Regions from separate parts of the Homo sapiens genome. Here region 2 is linked to region 1. Evidence: promoter capture Hi-C in human tissues and cell types (Jung and others, 2019). All regions are on one chromosome and are shown on one strand. Each heading gives the region's core, a stretch centred on a gene start or on the middle of the fragment in contact. The rest is flanking DNA. Distances are from core to core; before and after follow the strand shown.

The links. The method cuts DNA at HindIII sites, captures the fragments that hold promoters and counts their contacts. A contact is called where the count stands out against the background at its distance.
Region 2: a fragment that was not itself captured here is called in contact with the fragment with the promoter of TTC23L in region 1 in 1 of the 25 tissues and cell types used here (small bowel).

What each region holds. Positions count from the first base shown.
Region 1 is chr5:34,837,125-34,841,690 of GRCh38, reverse strand. It overlaps TTC23L (tetratricopeptide repeat domain 23 like), which reads right to left and starts at 2,527. Exons shown (of 11, transcript NM_144725.4): 1 at 2,432-2,527; 2 at 952-1,026. The coding sequence starts at 1,019. TTC23L-AS1 (TTC23L antisense RNA 1) reads left to right here and starts at 2,359. Exons shown (of 2, transcript NR_183259.1): 1 at 2,359-2,508; 2 at 2,674-4,144. RefSeq lists an enhancer at 2,128-2,237. The HindIII fragment of the contact is 9,286 bases long and covers 1-4,566 here.
Region 2 is chr5:34,792,061-34,796,626 of GRCh38, reverse strand. RAI14 (retinoic acid induced 14) reads right to left here. Exons shown (of 18, transcript NM_015577.3): 4 at 600-688. Among named protein-coding and RNA genes, the nearest start is that of TTC23L, 45 kb to the left of the region's middle. The HindIII fragment of the contact is 7,860 bases long and covers 1-4,566 here.

The sequences.
Region 1 (4,566 bases), core at 1,278-3,777:
TAAAAATTAGGCAGGTATGGTGGTGTGTGCCTGTAGTCCCAGCTACTCAGGAGGCTGAGGTGGGAGGATCTCTTGAGCCTAAGAGGCCAAGGCTGCAGTGAGCCGTGATTGCACCACTGCACTCCAGCCTGGGTGACAGAGCAAGGCTGTCTCTAAAAACGAAACAAAACAAAACAAGAATGGATTCTAGAGTCAGAATGCCCAGTTTAAATACCATTTACTAGCTTTGCAACTTTGGGCAAACTCCCTAACATCTCTTTGATTCATACTCATCTATAAAATGTACCAATAACAGTAACTCCTTCACAGGGCTTGGGGGGATTAAATCAGCTAAGACGTTTAAGGTACTTAGAACAGAGCCTGGCACATAGTATGTGCTCAATAAGTATTAGACGATACGAAAGTTTTATTTACTCTATTTCATAAAAATTTTCTCATTAACTTTGTTATAGCTAACTCTCTACAATTTTGCCAATCTTGTTATAACTAACCTATTTTTATTTTAAAAACTTTTAAAATTTCCTTAAGTCGGGAAAAAGCAATCTTCTATCATGCATAGGTTGTAAATACAAACAGATATTATAGCAGAATCATTATTAAAGCACATCAGAAACACAACCTTCTTTTTTATTTTATTTTATTTTTTTTTGAGACAGGGTCTCTATTGCCCAGACTGGAGTGCAGTGATGGAATCTCAGCCCACCACAACCTCTGCCTCCGGGTTCAGCTATTCTCCTGCCTCAGCCTCCCGAGTAGCTGGGATTACAGTCGCGTGCCACTACCGCGCAGCTAATTTTTGTATTTTTAGTAGAGACGGGGTTTCACCATGTTGGTCAGGCTGGTCGTGAACGCTTCTCATGCAAAGCTCCTCACCCAGGTTTGCCTTAAGCAGGAGGTCCCAGTGTTTCAGCCCAGTAAGTACCTGTGATGTCAAAATGCTGTGATACTTACATATGGAAGCAGAAATCCCAGTCGATGTCATTGCTAACAGTTGGGATACGGATGGGGCTGGCTTGCATCTTCTTCCTACCAAGAATCAGGTAAGGTCAGCTTTGAGAGAAAAGGCTGGGTGTCTGTTCTATTTTCCCCCTCTGGTTTGCTATTAACATTAAACTAAAACTGCTCAAATATATAACCCATCCTAAATCCACAGACTACGCATACTTAGATATGGAGACCGCTGGAAAACAGACATTTGCCAAATTAAATGTCTAAGTTAAATTTCTTTCCCCTAATTTCAACTCCACCCTACTTCTCCAAAATCCCTGGCCTTTATGTCTCAAAGCAAGCACATTTACAGTTCCTGGGTCATCAAAACTATGGTCACCTACTTAACTCAGATATTGTTTTTGCAGGTCTGACGGCGTGTTGGATTTAAGCAAAGCAACCAACTCTCAGTGGTAAACGAAGCACAGCCAGTGTATTGGTTAATTCTGCTTTCCCCCCCCCCCCCGGGGTCATTTCACTAATTAATAGCAGATTCTAGTACAGGGGTCACGAGGCGGGTACAGAGGCTCACGCCTGTAATCCCAGCACTGTGGGAAGCCGAGGCGGGTGGATCACCCGAGTTCAGGAGTTCGAGACCAGCCTGGCCAACAGGGTGAAACCCCGTCTCTACTAAAAATACAAAATATAGTCGGCTGTGGTGGTGCACGCCTGTAGTTCCAGCTACTCGGGAGGCTGAGGCAGGAGAATCGCTTGAACCCGGGAGGCGGAGATCGCGCCACTGCACTCCAGCCTGGGCGACAGAGCGAGACTCCGTCTCAAAATAAAATAAAACAATAAAATGAAATTCATGTGTCTGTTTTAGTTGTTGCTGTTAGATGATAGGAGAAACCTCGGAAGCACAAAACGAAAAATGTGATTTCTAAATACAGTATTTGTGAAATTCAACTCTCAAGGAAGGCTATGCCAGTCGCTTAAATCAAACCCAAATCGAACGCAGTTACTTATTGAATGTTAACATCCACCAAGTCGCCTCTCCTTTCACCCTCCAGAATCACTAATTCCCACCGAGCCCTGAGTGGCTTTCTGACCCAGGCTCCAGAGCATCCATTATCCGAAAATCAGAAAGGGAGAGTCACTAATTTCTCTTTTTAACCTCCACTTTAAACACTATGCCCACAGCAAAGAGTTCTGATCTCTCAAACTCCCGGACTCTGTTCCTATGACGTTCCGCACGGCCCTGAGCCCCTCAAGGACGAATCGCTCCTCTTTTCCCGCTGTGGTTCTGCGGCAAGTCTGTAAGCCCTGACGCCGCAGGTCGAGCTCTGAGAGCCTCTCTGCCGCGGAGGCTCTAAGAGAACGCGCGAGTGCGCAAAGGGCACCTGGCTCAAGGCGGAGAAACCACGCCCCGGAACCAGCCTCCCAGCTCCCTGAGCCCGACGGCGCGGCTTCCTCCCGCTGCGTCGGCCTCCTGACCCTGGCGCACCTCGGTCCGGGCGCCAAAGCGGTGCCTCGCGAAAGCTGCACAGCCTGCGACGTCCCCAGTTACCTTCCGCAGCCCAGGTCCGGCCAAGGAGACAATACCGTTGCCATGGGAACGGAACGCTACGGGTTCTGCTGGGAGCGCCTGTAGCCATGGCGACGCGGGGCACTTCCGGTTCGGAGAGTCCCTGTTGTCTGGCGCCTACAGCAGCCCTTGCCTTACCCTCCGCTTTCCCTTCCCCGCAGGTTAGACGCGCCCGGCCTCCGGCTCGCCCCAAAACTGGCCTCTGCATATTGTATCTCACGAGACCTTACCCCTCGGAGGTGAAGGCGTAGGAAGAGAAGATACATTCCGTCCAAGGATGGAAGGGAGCGCCGGGCCCCACGGCCCTACTTATTTAAAGCTGCGACGTGTGCGGGCTGTATTCGGCGACGATCCTGGCCACGGTGCACCCCCACAGCTCCTCGGGAGTTTTGTTTTTATGGACCCCAGAGGAAAGGCTTAGATATGGCTGTTGACTGTGCTGGCACCGTCTGTGTTACCCAGTAAGATTGGAGCTAGGCATGGTTAGGAAAGCTGATTGCAGGAAGAGAGTAGGGTAAGAAATCGACTACTAGATCTGCTAATGGTTAGCTGTTCATTATTTATTTAGCACTTAGCCCTAAATAATGCAGCCATATCTTACCCTTTCGTTGGCATGGAATACAGTGTGTGTAATACACACAAGGTGCAGAGGCAATTGTGGCCATACCCAAAGAAACAGCGCCAGCTCTTGCAACGCTATGTTGAAGGATGTTATTATGAACCCTATCATAGACTAGGCCTATGGCAAGTCAAGTTGGAGTGAATGTGTCCCAGTTGTTTTCAGAAAAGAGCAGACTAGGTAGAGAGACAAGGAGAACATTGAGAATGTGAAAGATGGTGTTTACGTTTGGTGTTTGTTATTTCCAGCTCTAGGCTGGAAGTTTAATTGCCATTGATCCAAGACTGCCAAGAAAGCCTTTTTGGAGTTAGGTTGGAGGAGTTATTTAAATGAGTTTGCTTGAATATCTCTTAAGTAAAACCTGTATGGTCTGTTAACTCAAGATTTAAATCTGTACTTTCGAGCTCCATAGTCACAATTTTGGAAAGATTCCCCCACTTTATTCTTTTTCCTAAGAAAACTCTCAGCATGGAACAATGATGACAGCAATGAACCTGATTTCAGAATGTCAAGGTTCTGGTTTTGACTCTGTAGCCTGGGCCGAGTCACGGCCAGTGGGTCCCAATTTTCTTGCCTATACGGTGAAAGTTTTTGTACCACTTGCTTTCTGAAGCGCCTTCTGGTTCCAGGTTTCTGTAAGGGGTAAACGATTTTTGTGACTCTATGAACAGTATTTAACATGTATGGGAGTAAAAAGGAAGAACCTGTTTCCTGTTCTCCAACATTTATTTCTTTTACCCCTTGTTAAGTTGGTCATCAAATTGAAAGGTTTTAATGTTCTTTCATTCTAGGAAATGGCTGTGAGATTGTTTCTAAGTATATTAAAGGTAATGTCTCTTTTCTAAACCTTTGCTTTTGCTGATAATTGTGGAGAGAAGAACCAGAACAGGCACTGAATTCCCATTCCTAAAGCCAACGCTCTAATTCGGCCTCCATTTCATTAGCTCTGACCGGAAGCATGTTGCCTGCATCTGTAAAAATTATAAATCAAAATAAAATAACTTTGGCGACTATTTTTTTTCTTTTTTTGAGACAGAGTCTCACTCTGTGGCCCAGGTTGGAGTGCAGTGGTGTGATCTTGGCTCAGTGCAACCTCCGCCTCCCGGGTTCAAGCAATTCTGCTGCCTCAGCCTCCCGAGTAGCTGGGATTACAGATGTGTGCCACTACTGTCTGTCTAGTTTTTGTATTTTTAGTAGAGACAGGGTTTCACTGTGTTGGCCAGGCTAGTCTCGAACTCCTGACCTCAGGTGATCTGCCTGCCTCAGCCTCCCAAAGTGCCGGGATTACAGGTGTGAGCCACCGTCCAGCCAGAACTTTGAGGACTCTTGAAGTTTTTTGGTATTTCTTTCCTTGTCATGTTAACCCTGTCCCCCAAATGTAAGCTTTAGTTGTAGTATATACACTTTTAGGTTTGTTCACTAACTCTAGAATGGC
Region 2 (4,566 bases), core at 1,451-3,950, 45 kb after region 1:
CAAAAATTAGGGACTATTGCTTGGTCTGTACATATAATCTTAGAAAATAATATAAAAAATGAGGATAAGAAGCATACAGTCTCTAGTTGACTAACCACATGAAAGATGAAAACTCAGAAGTATGGCTATACAACAAAACCATGTCAGAGTCTTGCTATTGGAGGTGATTCTCTTTTCTTCTTTTGGACTCTAAATTTTATCTGTAGACTCTAATTTTTTTTTTTTTTTTGAGACAGAGTCTCGCTCTGTTGCCCAGGCTGGAGTGCAGTGGCACAATCTCGGCTCACTGCAACCTCCGCCTCCAGGATTCCAGTGATTCTCATGTCTCAGCCTCCTGAGTAGCTGGGATTACAGGTGCATGCCACCATGCCTGGCTAAATTTTTTTGTATTTTTAGTAGAGATGGGTTTTAACCATATTGGCCAGTCTGGCCTTGAACTCCTGGCCTCAAGTGATCCACACACCTCACCCTCGCAGAGTGCTGTAATTACAGGATGAGTTACCACACCTGGCCTTAAATTTTCCATAATGAATATGTATTACTTTTTGATACCTAATCTGGTGCTGGCCTGCTGACTTAAGAGACTAAAAACCACATACCGGTAGTATCTTGGGCTGTCACATCCACACCATGTGTAATCATGACCCTGAGGCATTCCACGTGTCCTTTTGCAGCAGCAAGATGGAAACTGGAAAGAGAAGTAAACACAATCTCCTTGAGATTTCTACTCTTTAATGTTCATCTCCAACAGAGTTTCCCCCCCGCCCCCCGCCATTTCATGTACACTTTCTCTTCCTTGAGCTCTACAAGCACCCACTGACTAGGCATTATTATCAATCTCACTTTAAAGAGGAGGAAACAGAAGCTCAGGATGGTCTGATAATTTCCTCGTTGACAGCTTTAGTTAAGGGATGGAGCAGGAGTTTGATCTTCCAACCCCAAAGACCAGGCTTGAAAAAAGTAAGATTCAGCCATATATTTGTCTCTTGATGAAACAAATCAGAAAGTCCCAACTAGGTTGAATTTCTAAGTAATATGTCTTTATCAATGTTTTCCTATTGTCTAGTGTTTTCACCACAGCTGTTTCACCATTTTAAAGTGATATGCTCTAAAAAGAAAATCTTGTCTAAGTCAAACAGTGGCCAAGGTTCTTGGACAACTCAATGCCCACTGTTGTGTTGTATCTGAGTAACAATAGTTGCATGCAATATTTGGTAAGTGCCTAATGTGGGTCAAGCATCTGACTACACACTTTTATGCATTGTTTTTCATTCCTATGACAGCTCTTTAAGGTGAGTTCTATTACTTTCTCCATTAGATGGCAAGTGTCTATACTCTGGTGCAAACAGCATTAGAGAAAGCCCACCATTAAGACTCCAGAACTCAGTGAAACTTGGGAGCACAAACCATGATCAGCATGTTTAGACTGGTCACTAGAAGAAGGGATAACATCCAAATGCCAATTCAATCATCCCTCCAGATCCCGGGATGAAGGGCACTTTTGCATGCAGAAAGAAGCAAAGCACAATTCCACTGGGTGGTCAGGCCCAGAGGCCAAGATGGCTGCAAAATTTGGGCAGGTTTCCCTTCTCTCAGTTGCCATCCTATAGAGAGGTTAATGAGCCTTCTAGTTCTTCTCCTGAGTCAGTCCTGTTTTAGGGATGTGCCCTCAGGATACCTCTCATGAAGTCCCTTGGTGTCTGTACCTCTGAATTAATGCCCAGATAATATTTTCTCGCTGGGAAGGATCTATCATTGAAATCCAGGGTAACATTCAACTGGAAAGTCCGATAGCTGATATTTAAACCCAAGTTGGTCTGATTCCAGACCTCTTAATAACCTGGCTGAGTGAGGGGGACATATCAACAAATAGGAATACTTCAGTACTAGTTGCAAATCAGCCATAACATAATTATCTGTGTGTTTTGGGAAGTCATTTTAACCTCTCTGTGCCTAAATTTCCTCCATTGTAAAGGCTGGGGATCAAGTCAAATAATTTCTAATGGTTCCCTTGGCTCTAACGTTTAATTATTTTAGCTTACCTGGCTCTACTCACGCAACTATTTCTGTATTTGTGCAGCAATCTATGTGTAATATCTATTTACAGTCAAAATTTATTTTATAAGTGATTTCACATTACAATAAAACTTTGCATACAATGATTTGGGAGTGTAGTGACTTTTTTTTGTTTTTGAATATTTTTTGAGATGGAGTCTTATTCTGTTGCCTAGGCTGGAGTGCAGTGGCATGATCTTGGCTCACTGCAACCTCCGCCTCTCAGGTTCAAGTGATTCTCCTGCCTCAGCCTACTGAATAGCTGGGATTACAGGCATGTGCCACCACACCCAGTTGATTTTTGTATTTTTAGTAGAGACGGGGTTTCACCATGTTACCCAGGCTGGTCTCAAACTCCTGACCTCATGTGATCCACACACCTCAGTCTCCCAAAGTGCTGCGATTACAGGCATGAGCCACCATGCCTGGCCATAGTGACTTGTTTAAATGGAATTCCTCATTCAATATAGCTTAACCAAACTATACTGGCAGTGCAATAATTCCTCCACTTCTCAACATTGTTGGAATAGCTTCATTTTACAATAAGTCCACCTTTAAGCAGTAAGTCTTTTATTAATCTTGGTGGAAGGTTTCTAAAAGTTTCCCAGCCTTAGTAATAGTGCATGTAACATAATTAATTGCTCTTGGGAATATGGAGTCTCCTCAATTATTGAATTGCATGTTTAGGGATACTAATTGAAATGCCCCTGGATTACTAAGCCCTAAAATTGATTAATATTTAGCTTCTTAATGTCTTTGTGTTTGTTTCTAAGCTGTTCACTATGCCATCTCCTATGACAAGAGGAAAACTAAATCAAAAGTATCTAAATAAGAGAGTAGCCATATCCCATTCTAAAAATAACCATACCAGGAAGTGTCTACTGCCCATGTGCATATACACACACCCAAATCAATCAATCAATCAATTATATTTATCTACATTTAACTTTTGATTGAAATATAACATGTAAAGAAAGCTACACATATAATTGTACAGCTTGCTAAATTTTTGCAACTGAAATATTTTGCCTTCATACTAATCAGGAAACAGAATGTGGTCAGAGACCCCAAAACCCTCCTGCTAGCACCCCAGAAGTTCTCCATATGCCCCTTTTAGTTACTAACCCCCTTCCCCATGTGATATTTTTATTTTTTTCTACTCTGAGGCTTCTTGGATTACCTCTGGATTACATAGTCTTTTATGGGTGGCTGGAACTGCAGACCATCTGACAGTGAAGCATTATTGTAGGCCACTCCTGTACATTGGTAAATGCAGTCTGATGAACGTGTTATGATATTCTACAAATGATTTGGGAAATGCAGAGTTTCAGGATCATCACTTGGAAGGCCCACGATCAATACAAGGCAGAAGTGAGGTGTTAGGAAGCTGCGCTCAATTTCCAGTCCCACAAAAGAATTTTCTTAGACATAGCTTTGTAAAAGAAAATCCCTGATATCAACCTAAATTTATATATTTGATGGCTGAAATACATTTTCAGGGATCCAGTTAGTTAAAGCTTCATTGCATACGCTTTAATAAATCGTGTGATAGCGAGAGATTTTATTTTGTCCTCCCTCTCCCATTGAGAGTTTAGATCAATAAGTGACTTTTTTTCTCTATTCTGGGGACTTTCCAACTATTATGCTGCAGAATGCTTGTGTCCTGCTGAGAAAACAGAATGACAGAATTTTCCAAATTCATTATTTTCTCTTCATGTATTTTACCTAAAGCTGCATCACTTACTGCTTTTACAGATAAAACAGACAAAGTACAAACAAATATAAATAACTAGAAACAGCTCATTCTATAAGGATAGATAGTCTTGGCTTTGATTTTACACTGCATGCATCTAATACCATATTTTTTGCTAGTAAAACCATTGCTAGTTCATGTGATTCAGTTAAACATTATTTCAAGGTGTTTCTGCAAGAAAATTCTAACATCCAGGTGTTTGTTGTGTTCTGATGTCACACAAAAGCTTCTGCTCTGCTTTCTAAAACACACAGGCATAGGAATGATCTTGAAAAGCAGGAAAGGGGCCAGGCACAGTGGCTTACGCCTGTAATCCCAGCACTTTGGGAGGCCGAGGTGGGCGGATCACGAGGTCAGGAGATCGAGACCATCCTGGCTAACACAGTGAAACCCCGTCTGTACTAAAAATACAAAAAAATTAGCCAGGTGTGGTGTCGGGCACCTGTAGTCCCATCTACTCGGGAGGCTGAGAGAGGAGAATGGTGTGAACCAGGGAGGCGGAGCTTGCAGTGAGCCAAGATTGCACCACTGCACTCCAGCCTGGGCGACAGAGAGAGACTCCGTCTCAAAAAAAAAAAAAAAAGAAAAAAGAAAAGAAAAGCAGGAAAGGGAAAAACTGATCATTTTAGCTAGAAGTGTATGATTCATTTCTCCAGACTCTCCAGATAAGGAGCTCCACTGTGTATCATCATTCCTCTCACTGGGTATGCGCTTCTGGGAAATGGAAGTAAAGCCAGGAAACACAGTCTGTGAGTCTG